4 separate regions of the Homo sapiens genome follow, and regions 1, 2 and 3 are each linked to region 4. The links are contacts of gene promoters, found by promoter capture Hi-C in blood cells and fetal thymus (Javierre and others, 2016). All regions are on one chromosome and are shown on one strand. The core of a region is centred on a gene start or on the middle of the fragment in contact, and the rest is flanking DNA. Distances in the headings are between cores, read along the strand shown.

Region 1 (2,796 bases), core at 252-2,751, 570 kb after region 4:
GGGTTACACAGGCTGCAGAGCCTCCATTAAAAATAATTTGTATTAAAAAATAAAGACACAATCTTATTTTTACAAGGGGCAATAAATATGTATGGCTGGTTTTATTGACTTTCACTCAGAATGGAGCATGTATGCTTTGGAATTCCATTCTGTAAAGTTTCATTGGTAGTTGATAAGTCAGATCTGAAACCAGAAATTCACGCACACTCTCCTCTTCTTTTAAAAAGAACATTGAATATGCCAGTGTCCAGGGTTTTCTCTTTCGTTGTCATCCTCTCCAACCCTTTCTTCTTCTTCCTTCTAATGATATCAATCCCAAACAAATACCTTGCATTTGCTGCCTTGTACTCTTGCAACAAATACTTTGCCTGTGTTGCAGAATCCTTTTAGGAAAGCTTGCAAGCGGACAGCAGAGATCAGAACGGGACACTGGGGAAATCACCTGAACTGACACCTCACTCAGGGTGCCGGACAGCTTTAGGGAGATTAATCTCCGTGAAGCTGTCCAGCAAGACAAGAATGATGACTGACCATTTACATACTGGGCAGCCTTCCCATCTGGGTCATCAGCCTGGATTTATTCCCAGTTGTCAGGAACCCCAGAGGAGGTGACCTCCATTCAATTTGTCATGGACAACTGTTCTGATCACCCAGACAGCCTTCTCAATTTCCCTTTGGCTGGGGGCATGAGAATGATCAAAGACCAAATAGGTGCATGTAGAGTGGCCTCCATTCTATCCCTAATGGGATAATCCTGATGATTAGAGTCAGGCCTCCAAGAGATCATGGGCCATCTTTGATAGATTCACCACTGATGCCTGGACATCCAGAACTTTCAGAGATGATAAATCAGCTCTGAAGGAACAAAGGCTGGCACTATGAAACAAAAATGGGTGAAACATCAGTGCGACACTAGCAATGGTGCAGCGTAACAGAGTCAGGAAACACACCCAGTTCTTAAAATTCTGATGTCAAATCTGCTGCTAGCAAGAGCGTTCTGATAAAGCAGTTAACAGTTCTGTGCATGGATTTCTCACCAACTCTATAATCACACCACCTATTTATCCCAAAGGAGCAATGTCAGGTTAACCCCACAAACAAATCTTTTTTTTTTTTGTTTGTTTGAGACAGAGTCTCACTCTGTCGCCCAGGCTAGAGTGCAGTGGTGTGATATTGGCTCACTTCAACCTCTGCCTCCCGGGTTCAGGTGATTCTCGTGCCTCAGCCTCCCTGGTAGCTGGGATTACAGGCGTGCGCCACCACACCTGACTAATTTTTGTATTTTTAGTAGAGATGGAATTTCACCATGTTGGCCAGGCTGGTCTCAAACTCCTGGTCTCGAGTGATCTGCCCACCTTGGCCTTCCAAAGTGCTGGGATTACAGGTGTAAGCCACTGTGCCCAGCCAGACAAATCTTATTTTAACACTACTTATTTATGCTTGTAAAGACTTTGCAATATCTGTACCAGGCAAATCTAAGGCTGTTTGCTCAACTATGAAAGTGTATTTTCCCTTACATGGTCTCCTAGACCTTAAACAACCTTATTACATTACCCATATTCACCAGGTACTTTACTTTTAAAATAATTCTCATTTAGTTTTCTCATCAAACTTAAGTGGAAGAACTTTTTATTACCAGTTAACAGAAAAGTTACGAAGGTTTACAAAGACCCAGCCAGTGAGTGGTAGAGCTGAAATCCAGCCCTAATTGGGCCTAACCCCAAAGCCTCCAAGACAATAAGACCACCTCTGCCAATTTTGATAAGGGGTAGTCTAGTTTCCGCTCTTCCATGGATGAAGTCCATAAATCCAAGAAAGCCTACCACCCAGAAAAAGAGATCATTTATCCCCACCATCCAGAATAAAGGCAGGACACTGAGGCCAGGCACTGGCACCCATGCACAGATATGGCATGAGCTGTCTGTGGAAAATCTTCCCCATCATTACCAACCCTACATCATGGGCTTGGAAATTGCTGAATGTCTCTTTAGGCAAGAGCTGACTTAATACTTTGGTTTCTTAAAGGCTGTCTAGGAGAAATCAGAGCACTACACAGAGCCTCCATCTACTGCCCCGGAGCTAAATCCCCTTGGAATATGTCTTAGCAGGTTTGCTTTCAACCCCTCAAATTCTTTCGCCTGAAGTCTTCTAGATGCAAGAAACAGATGCTCCTTCAGCCTCCTGAAATAAGAGAGGTTTAATACTGGAGTGCACCTGGAGCAGTGAAGGGAGATGGAGGGTCCTAGATGCCAAGATACTTCTCTGACCATCTCAGAGCCTGCAGGTGGAGGAGAATTCTAGAACCTCAGGCTGCTCTCCCAGTCCCCAGATCTTCATCCAAGTTCTCCACCATTAACACAACCCAGCTGGTCTCCACAGATAACCTCATCTGTTTTTCTGTGCCTGCAACTTGTGCATCCTTTCTGTATTACCAGTTCAAAATCCTGAAGGGTGAAATCTACCTGGCCCAGTTAATCTGTTCCCAGCAGGTCCCACCTTAAGGCTCTGGCTGGTCTCTGGGTTGACTGATTCCTGAGCCCATCTACTTGATGCGGCTTCCCAGATTAAGAATGGATGTTGAAAAGGAGTAATTTCCATGAGAAGAGCCAAGCTTTTCCGCATCCATGCCACGCACCAACCTCTCCCCAAGTTTTTCCTGATATGCGATTCTCACTATCGCTTCATTCCAGTCTCTTCTGATGTCAGCTCTTTACAAAGACCTTCCTTCCCTTCAGTGTCTCCACTCCCTGACCCTGCTTTCTGTGCCTCCGGGCGCTTGCAATGACCTGATATTCT
Region 2 (2,700 bases), core at 152-2,651, 610 kb after region 4:
CACCGCCCTTCCACTTTCTCCATACCCAGGCAAATAGTAAATGAACAAAAACTCAGCCTACCACTTCAGAAAAGTTATTGGTCTATTTTCAGTGTCATTTACCTTATTATGGCATTATCTTTAGCTTCATCTGGGGGTAGAAAATGGTGACTCATTGTTACCATAACTGAATTTGAAATTCTTATTTAATATTGCAGAACTAATAATAGACTGTGTGATAGTGAATCACAATTGTTAAACCAGTCCAATTCCTTCCCCATCTCTGCATCAGCTCCTGTTCTGTTGGGGCAGCCAGCAAACTTTGCTTTGTAAGTTCTTTGTTCTCTGTCTCTCAGCTATGACCAGAAACACCTTTAACCGTGTGATGGCATGCTATTTTAGGTCATTAACCTCTGCTACTTTTTCTACTCTTTCGGCCCGCCCCACCCTTACTCCTGTCTGTGAAGTCAGCCGTGGTTGCCTCAGGAAGGGGATGATACAGGCAACTAGGCAGTCAAAGTTTTGAGTTCCAAAAGCCCAGGCTGGGCGTGATACAAAGACCTGGAAGAAAACATCGTCAAGCAGGTACAGTTGTGCCATGCTCAAGCCTAGAGAAGATTCTCTGGGATGTGTGGGAGAAAGAGAGATAAAAGGTAAATGAAAATCCTTCAGATGTCAGTGGGTCCCTGAGCAGGCCTGTGCCCTTGACAAGGCCAAGTCAGGGCAGAGAGGAGGAAATAATGGAAGACCAGCCTAGCTTTGAGGATCTGAATGCAAGGGGAACTTATGCTCTGTCCATGGCTAAAGCTCAAGTGGGCAGAAAGACCCTAGGGTTCCCTGTACCCAGCGTACTGTGGGAGCAAAAGGCACATCCGTTTTGCTGTGTCTGCAGGAAGTTTAAGAGAATCTCCAAGAGTCTCTCAGACCCCTGAGATGGCCAAGAGCAGCAGATGTTTCCCTGGTACCAGAAAGTGGTAGTCACTAGCACTGCAGGTAATGTGAAGCTGTTTCCAGAAGCTCTTTAGAAGCAATAGAATCTGCCATTAAGATTGAAGATCACAAATACATACAGAATGAACGTAAAAACCATGGCTGAGAATTGAATACTCAGTGGTCCCCAGAGACAAGTGGCTGTATCTCAAAACAACTTAGATAAAAACAAAGATGGTGGAAGCCTGGAAGATGCCTGTAGATGGCTCCAGAAGTGCTTCCCAGAATAGTGAAGACATCATTGTTGGAAGTTGAATGTGGAGAATCTGAATAAAATATCTTTCATAAAATGTGAGCAGGGGAAAAGTAATGTTATATATTGCATGTTACTTAATAAGGGGTTCCCAACAGGAGGCAATTTCGCCCCACAGAGGACATTTGGCAATGTCTGGAGACATTTTTTGTTGTCAGAACTTTGGCAAGGGTGGGAAAGTGCTACTGGAATCTAGTGGGTAAAGGCCAGGGTGTTGCTAAATGAGCTTCTGCTCTAGTTTGTGTTCCTACACCCAATAACACTAAGCCTTGACAATGACCAGTTCACAGGGCCGTGCTGTCACTCGTGATTGGATGTACCTCGTGATGGATGTTGGAAAGTTTCTCAAAGCATGTCCTCAGGATCCCTAGTTGCATAAAACATCTCTAAAGAATGGCTTGCATGGTCTTAAGATTTGGGAAAATGCTATATTCCAAATTCTCCCTTGTAACTTGGCAATGGACAGTAGTATGTTCAAGTCTCTGAGAAGTCCTGCAAAATGTTGGACTTGGATTAATCTAAAACTTTCCAAATTTGTTTGATCACAGAGCCTTTAAAATTTTTTTCTGAAGGACAGAGGGCAAGGACACTTCTAGTGTTGTCATGTTTGACTGTTTACATGTTTAAATACATTTTATTCTGAATTACTTTCATTTTATTCCCTTTTGTATTACTATTAGAGCATCATACCAATTTTGGGGCAAAAGTACGTAAAGGTGGGTTGTATTGTCTGTGAATTTCATGTAAAACTAGGAAAACAGGCACTGTAAACTATTTGTTATAAAAAGAGTGTATGGATATTTGTCGTAAGAAAACGGTATAGGAAAACCTCTGTGTGTGTCTCGGCATAAAGGTAAAATGATCACCTAAGCTACGCTCTCCATCAGAGATGAGTAGAGGAGGGATGTGAAATCCTGCTGAGATCACAGTATTGCATTACAGAGCTAAAAGCCACCCTGGGCTCCTCTAGTCCCACCTTTCGCTGTACAGACAAAGAAATTGAGATTCAGCAAGGTTCCATGACTTACCCAAGGGCCTCAAAGTTACCACAGAACACAAAGGGCCTTCTGGCATGGCCTGGTCATACTGCATTTCTTGAGTGGGTGAACAGAAAGTTCCAGAAGCAAATATTGTACCATTGTTTTCATAGAATTTACTGTCTTGGTTCGTGTTCACAAATCCCTGAAGAGCAATAGAGGGATGATATGTTAAACATGTTTCCCTGCAAACTCTCCATTCCCTCGAACTGTATTTACTCTACCCTAAAGCAGAAAGTTTAATTGTCCCCCTGGATGTGCTGTGTGATGATATTTTGGAAAGAGAATTGACCAAGGAGCCAGAAAATATCTTACAAAAAAAATCACTCTTACTCTTAAGAATAACACCTTCTACATTTCCTTAACCATAAAAAGTATTACTCACTTCATTGTCCAGACTTCGCTTAAATGAAATGTGACTCTTTCAAACAATCACATCAA
Region 3 (2,859 bases), core at 254-2,753, 540 kb after region 4:
AGCCCATCATTTACATAATGCCTATGGCAGAATTGAGTTCTTGCAACAACCTATAAAATGTTTTAGACTTTAGCTGGTGCATCACCATCAGGTAGAGGGGTTGTAAAAACACAGATTGCTGTGCCTCACCCAGGGTTCCTGGTTCAGTAGGTGTGGGGCAGGGCCTGAGAATTTGCAGTTCTAACAAGTTCCCAGATATAGTGATGCAATGACAACCAAAGTGATTTTCCTACTCTCTACTCTCACACAGCTACTCAACACTTCTATAACCCCATGTGTAAAGGGTTTTTTTTCCTACACACCAAGCAATTCTGCAGATAATTCTCCTTAATTGAATTAAAGGACACAAGCTGGGTGACCTTTATTTAATTCAATTCAATTCCAACACTATCTACCTGGAGACAGCGTCAGATCCCACAGGTTGAGGGCTCAGTTCCACAAGACTGCCCCCACTTAAGACGCCATTCGCAAGTTTAGGTTATAGCCTGTGCTTCTGACTGACCAGGGTCCCCATAACCCCCTCCTTGGGTTCAATTAATTTGCTATAGTGGCTCACAGAGCCCAGGGAAACACTTTTACTTACATTTACCCATTTATTATAAAGAATGTTACAACGGATCCAGATGAACAGCCATATGGAAGAGAAGCATAAGGCGAGGTATGGGGAAGGGGCGTGGAGCTTCCATGCCCTCTGCGGGTGCACCACCCTCTACGAACCCCCATGTGTTCAGCAATCCAGGCCACCTGAACCCTGTCCTCTTGGGTACTTATGAAGGTCTCATTACATAGGCATAATTGTTTACATCATTGGCCATTGGTGATCAACGTAAAGTTCAGTCCGTTTCCTCTCCCCAGAGGCCAGGGGGGTGGCCCTGAAAGTTCCTTCCCTCTAATCACATGATTGGTTCCCCTGGCAACCAGCCCTCAACCTGAGGCAGTACAGGAGGCCACCAAGAGTCTCCTCATTAGAGCAAAGGATGCTCCCATCACCCAGGAAATTCCAAGGGATTTAGGAGCTCTGTGTCAGGAACCTGCGTCAAAGATCAAATATTGGAACAAAAGATCCTCCCAGCACTCCAATTGTTCAGACAATTACAAGGGTTTAGAAGCTCTGTGTCAAGGACTGGGGGCAGAGACCAATATGTGTATTTCGTGTTATTTCACGGCAGGTGATACTGATGCTGCTGGGCCAGGAACCACACTTTGAGAACCATTTAGTTGGTTCTTTTTAATATAAATATAATTTCAACTTTTATTTTAGATTCAGGGATTACATGGGCAGGTTTGTTACATGGTGATATAGTTTGGCTCTGTGTCCCCAGCCAAATATCATGTCAAATTGGAACTTTCAATGTTGGAGGAGGAGCCTGGTGGGAGGTGATTGGATCATGGGGGTGGATTTTCCCCTTGCTGTTCTCGTGATAGTGAGTGAGTCCTCACGAGATCTGGTTGTTTAAATATGTGTAGCACTTACCCCTTTGCTCTCTTACTCCTGCTCCAGACATGTAGAACGTGCCTGCTTCCCCTTCTGCCATGACTGTAAGTTTCCTGAGGTCTCCCGAGCCATGCTTCCTGTACAGCCTGTGGAACTGTGAGTCAATTAAACCTCTTTTTGTATAAATTACCTAGACTCAGGCAGTTCTTTATAGTAATGCGAGAACGGACTAATACACATGAGTATATTGAATGATGCTGAGGTTTAGGGTACAAACGATCCTGTCACCAAGGTAGTGAGCCTAGTACCCAGTAGTCTTTCAGCCCTTACCCTCTTCCCTCTCTCCCGCTCTTGCAGTCCCCAGTGTCTGTTGTTTTCATCTTTATGTCCATGAGTACCCAATGTTTAGCTCCCAATTCTAAGTGAGATCATGCAGTATTTGGTTTTCTGTTCTTGTATTAATTCACTTAGGATAATGGCCTCCAGCTGCATCCATGTTGCTGCAAAGGATATGATCTCATTCTTTTTTAATGGCTGCCTAGTGTTCCATGGTGTGTATGTACCACGTTTTCTTTTTCCAATCCACCATTGATGAGCACCTGGGTTGATTCTATGTCTCTGCCATTATGAATAGTGCTGGAGAGCTACTGAGTTTAAGTATTTGGCATTCTGTAAAAGTGGGCTTTCTGATGAGCTCTGAGTGACTAAGGAGAGGAGTGTGAAGGGGTATGTGGTGGGTCCAATGAAGACCAGTTCTGTCCTTCTGTTGAGTGGGATACTTTTTCATAAATTTTTGTGCAAGTGAGTGAGAGCAAAAAAGAAAGGCCGAGACGTTACTTTGCAATTTGAATCAGTGCCTGTAGGCACTAGACTGAAAGTCAGAATATGAGAAACAGAAGACAAGTTATTATCTTCTTCTCAGGGAAGCTGTAATTAATGGTGACTTGACTTTATCCAGAAGCTCAGGCTGGCTTGAACAGCTGTTTTACATATAAAAACGGCTTGCAATGCAGGAGAAGTTAGGGCAATGAGAAATCAAAGTCATAATGCAAGAGGAAAGTAAGAGTTCACATAGGTAAAGATTGACGGCCAGGTGTGGTGGCTCATGCCTGTAATCCCAGCACTTTGGGAGGCCAAGGTGGGCGGATCACTTGAGGCCAGGAGTTCGGAACCAGCCTGGCCGACATAGCAAACCCAGTCTCTACTAAAAAGTACAAAAATTAGCTGGGCATGGTGGCACATGCCTGTAGTCCCAGCTACTCAGGAGGCTGAGGGAGGACAATCACTTGAACCTGGGAGGCGGAGGTTGCAATGAACCGAGATCACACCACTGCACTCCAGCCTGGGCGACAGAGCGAAACTCCATCTCAAAAAAAAAAAAAAAAGAAGAGAGATTGACAACAGATGAGTCCTGGTGAGTAGCA
Region 4 (2,700 bases), core at 84-2,583:
CAAATGTTTTTGGTTTGCCCATGAAGGCCCAGGCTGCACTCTCTGATGTCACAGGAATCACCTCTCAAACCATGCACCAGGTCTTGAATTCCCTTAGGGTGTGATCTTTAGAGGTCCATCTAGGTATACCCACCCAAGCCATTCTTTGACTGCTGACAGGCCTTCCTTCATAACAAGGTGTTCCACAGTCCATTTATATATGGATGTCATCTCTGCCCACCCTGCTGCCAATTTGGTTTTCTCCCACTCCTGGGGTGTAAGGCAAGATGAAACATATCACATCCCGTTCTAAACTTTATTCTTGTGGCCAGGGGTCAGCAAACTTTTTCTGTAAAGGGCCAGATGGCAAATATCTTAGGTTTTACAGGCCAAGAAGCAAATTTGGCATATTATGTAGCTACTTATATAGTAAAATAAAAATTTCCACAATTATGTAATTGATGAAACTCAAAATGTAATAATAATAATCGAAGGCAGTTTTTTTGTAGTATAGGTTTAATAATGAGAAGAATGGAATCATTTTTGGAGGTGCTAACATTCTGCTTGGTTGGAATTTAAAGTTAGTGTTCTGTATCAGCAAATCCATTGCCAATGTTCATCTAAAAATGTTTTCACTTCTGGGCCGGATTTCGTTCAAAGGCTGCAGTTTGCTGACCTCTGCTCTTGGTTACACCTTTTGAGGCCCTTGCTCTCCGAGCATAAAATGGAATCCATTTATCAGACTAAATCGGGAAGATTAAATTTTCCAGCCTCACGAATGCTCAGCCATTGACTCACTCGTTCATACAATGAACACTCATTGAGCTTATACTACATGCCAGGTGCTGGAGGAGGCATGGGGCGCCCAGGAGAAAGATGCTCGCTTTGCGGCCACAGCCCAGTGGGAGGGAGACCCATACCTACCGGTGCTGTCTCAGAAACTTGTGGAACAAAGATGAAGCAATGTTCATGTTATTCGCCTACATCTGTGAATTACACAAGGAAGACGAGTTTGAGAAATCCGAAGTTCAGTACAAATTTATGGTAACTTTTTTAAAAAAGAATACACTGAAGTTTTCTTAGTGAATGGAATAATGTTCCCTTTTTCTCCCCTGTACACACAAATACACAAAAACTAACAAAAATACGTCGTGTGTGTCTGATTTGGGTTGTATTTAAATCATTTCATAAATGACTTTTTCCCATAACTTCAGTTTCAAAGTTTTAAAGCACAGTCAATTAATGATTTGGCAACAGCTAAGAAATCACAAGTTCCCTTCTTTTCATGTAAACTTCTGTAAAACACACGCTACGTTCTGCTGATGGTAAATAGAGCCATTTCAGGAAGTTAGCCAGTTTCTCTTCTCGGCCACCTCCTGCATAGAGGGTACCATTCTGCGCTGCTGCAAGTTACGGAATGAAAAATTAGAACAACAGAAACATGGTAAGCCACTTCTATTTCTTTAGCAAAGCTTTCCAACAGAATATGGGGTTTCTGACCCAGAAATCTGGGTTGGTGGCAAATGGTGTGAGCCTAGAAAGTAATAAATGGGCAAATAAGGATAAAAATTAAAGATCGAAACAACTGTAAATGCAGGTAAAGCGGCTTGCTATGATCTTTAATTTGTGCACACGTTAGTATAAAGGAATTAGAGAGTAAATTTTGAAAATCAAATGCAGTGATGATCTTACTAATTTGGACAGGAAAATAAGAAAATTTCAAGTTAGAAATTGAACTGGAAATATTACTTACTGGCCCTACCAGAGACAATATCCTCTTCCAGAACAACAGGGTTGGAAGAGAAGGTGAGGGAAATATTCTTCCTTTGCTATTTCTGTAGAAAAGGACAAACTCTCTTCCTTCACATACATAGGTCAATTGCTAGATCCTAGTGAAGCCTGAGCTTAACCTACTGTTGGAGGCTTAAAGTTCGACATTAATTGCTACTTTTCTTGGTCAGAGTTTTAAATAATTAGGTTGGTACAAAAAACTGTGATTACTTTTCCACCAACCTAATAACATGCTACAATTTCTGTAATTATTATTTTACACTGTCAAGACATAGCAGGTGGTCCGTTTTTGTTATTGTCAAGAACTGTCAGACTAAAAATGAACTTTACACTTCTTTTTAAATGATACATTTTCTAGAAAATTCAATGAGGTTTAAGAGCAATTGAAAAGTCTGATTTCAAGAGAGTCTCATCCAAAATGTACTATATATTTTTCCCCAAAGTCCTTGGAGTTAATTTTGACAACAATTTAAAGTACACTTAAGTCTTTTGAAGTTAATGGGTCTGCCACCCAGGTTGGAGTGCAGTGGCGTGATCTCAGCTCACTGCAACCTCCGCCTCCCGGGTTCAAGCGATTCTCCTGCCTCAACCTCCCAAGTAGCTGGGACTACAGGTGTGTGCCACCACGCCTGGCTAATTTTTGTATTTTTAGTAGAGACGGGGTTTCTCCATGTTGGCCAGGCTGGTCTCGAACTCCTGACCTCAGGTGATCCGCCTGTCTCAGCCTCCCAAAGTGCTGGGATTACAGGCATGAGCCACCGCGCCCGGCCTGAAGTTAATTTTTATACCCACCTAATGTTCATTATGGATCTTGAAGGTAAATTAATTCTGCACTAAAATTTTACAATGCTTTACAAAATGACTGTAGGTGGCCCATATGGAATTCGGTCAACTGGGCCAATGACACATATGGGATTGCAGTTGAAATTA

What was found. The method cuts DNA at HindIII sites, captures the fragments that hold promoters and counts their contacts. A CHiCAGO score of 5 or more calls a contact.
Region 1: a contact is called between a fragment that was not itself captured here and the fragment with the promoter of TLR8 in region 4, in 9 of 17 cell types (activated CD4 T cells, non-activated CD4 T cells, total CD4 T cells and 6 more). The highest score is 12.1, in activated CD4 T cells.
Region 2: a fragment that was not itself captured here is called in contact with the fragment with the promoter of TLR8 in region 4 in 4 of 17 cell types (naive CD4 T cells, activated CD4 T cells, total CD4 T cells and 1 more); the score reaches 8.1 in naive CD4 T cells.
Region 3: a contact is called between a fragment that was not itself captured here and the fragment with the promoter of TLR8 in region 4, in 7 of 17 cell types (non-activated CD4 T cells, total CD8 T cells, naive CD4 T cells and 4 more). The highest score is 8.7, in non-activated CD4 T cells.

The regions. Positions count from the first base shown.
Region 1 is chrX:13,476,039-13,478,834 of GRCh38, forward strand. No RefSeq gene overlaps it. Among named protein-coding and RNA genes, the nearest start is that of EGFL6, 92 kb to the right of the region's middle. The HindIII fragment of the contact is 2,216 bases long and covers 394-2,609 here.
Region 2 is chrX:13,517,956-13,520,655 of GRCh38, forward strand. No RefSeq gene overlaps it. Among named protein-coding and RNA genes, the nearest start is that of EGFL6, 50 kb to the right of the region's middle. The HindIII fragment of the contact is 9,708 bases long and covers 1-2,700 here.
Region 3 is chrX:13,449,511-13,452,369 of GRCh38, forward strand. No RefSeq gene overlaps it. Among named protein-coding and RNA genes, the nearest start is that of LINC01203, 120 kb to the left of the region's middle. The HindIII fragment of the contact is 3,047 bases long and covers 1-2,859 here.
Region 4 is chrX:12,905,287-12,907,986 of GRCh38, forward strand. It overlaps TLR8 (toll like receptor 8), which reads left to right and starts at 1,334. Exons shown (of 2, transcript NM_138636.5): 1 at 1,334-1,423. The coding sequence starts at 1,421. It overlaps TLR8-AS1 (TLR8 antisense RNA 1), which reads right to left. Exons shown (of 5, transcript NR_030727.1): 4 at 904-965. The HindIII fragment of the contact is 3,594 bases long and covers 1-1,449 here.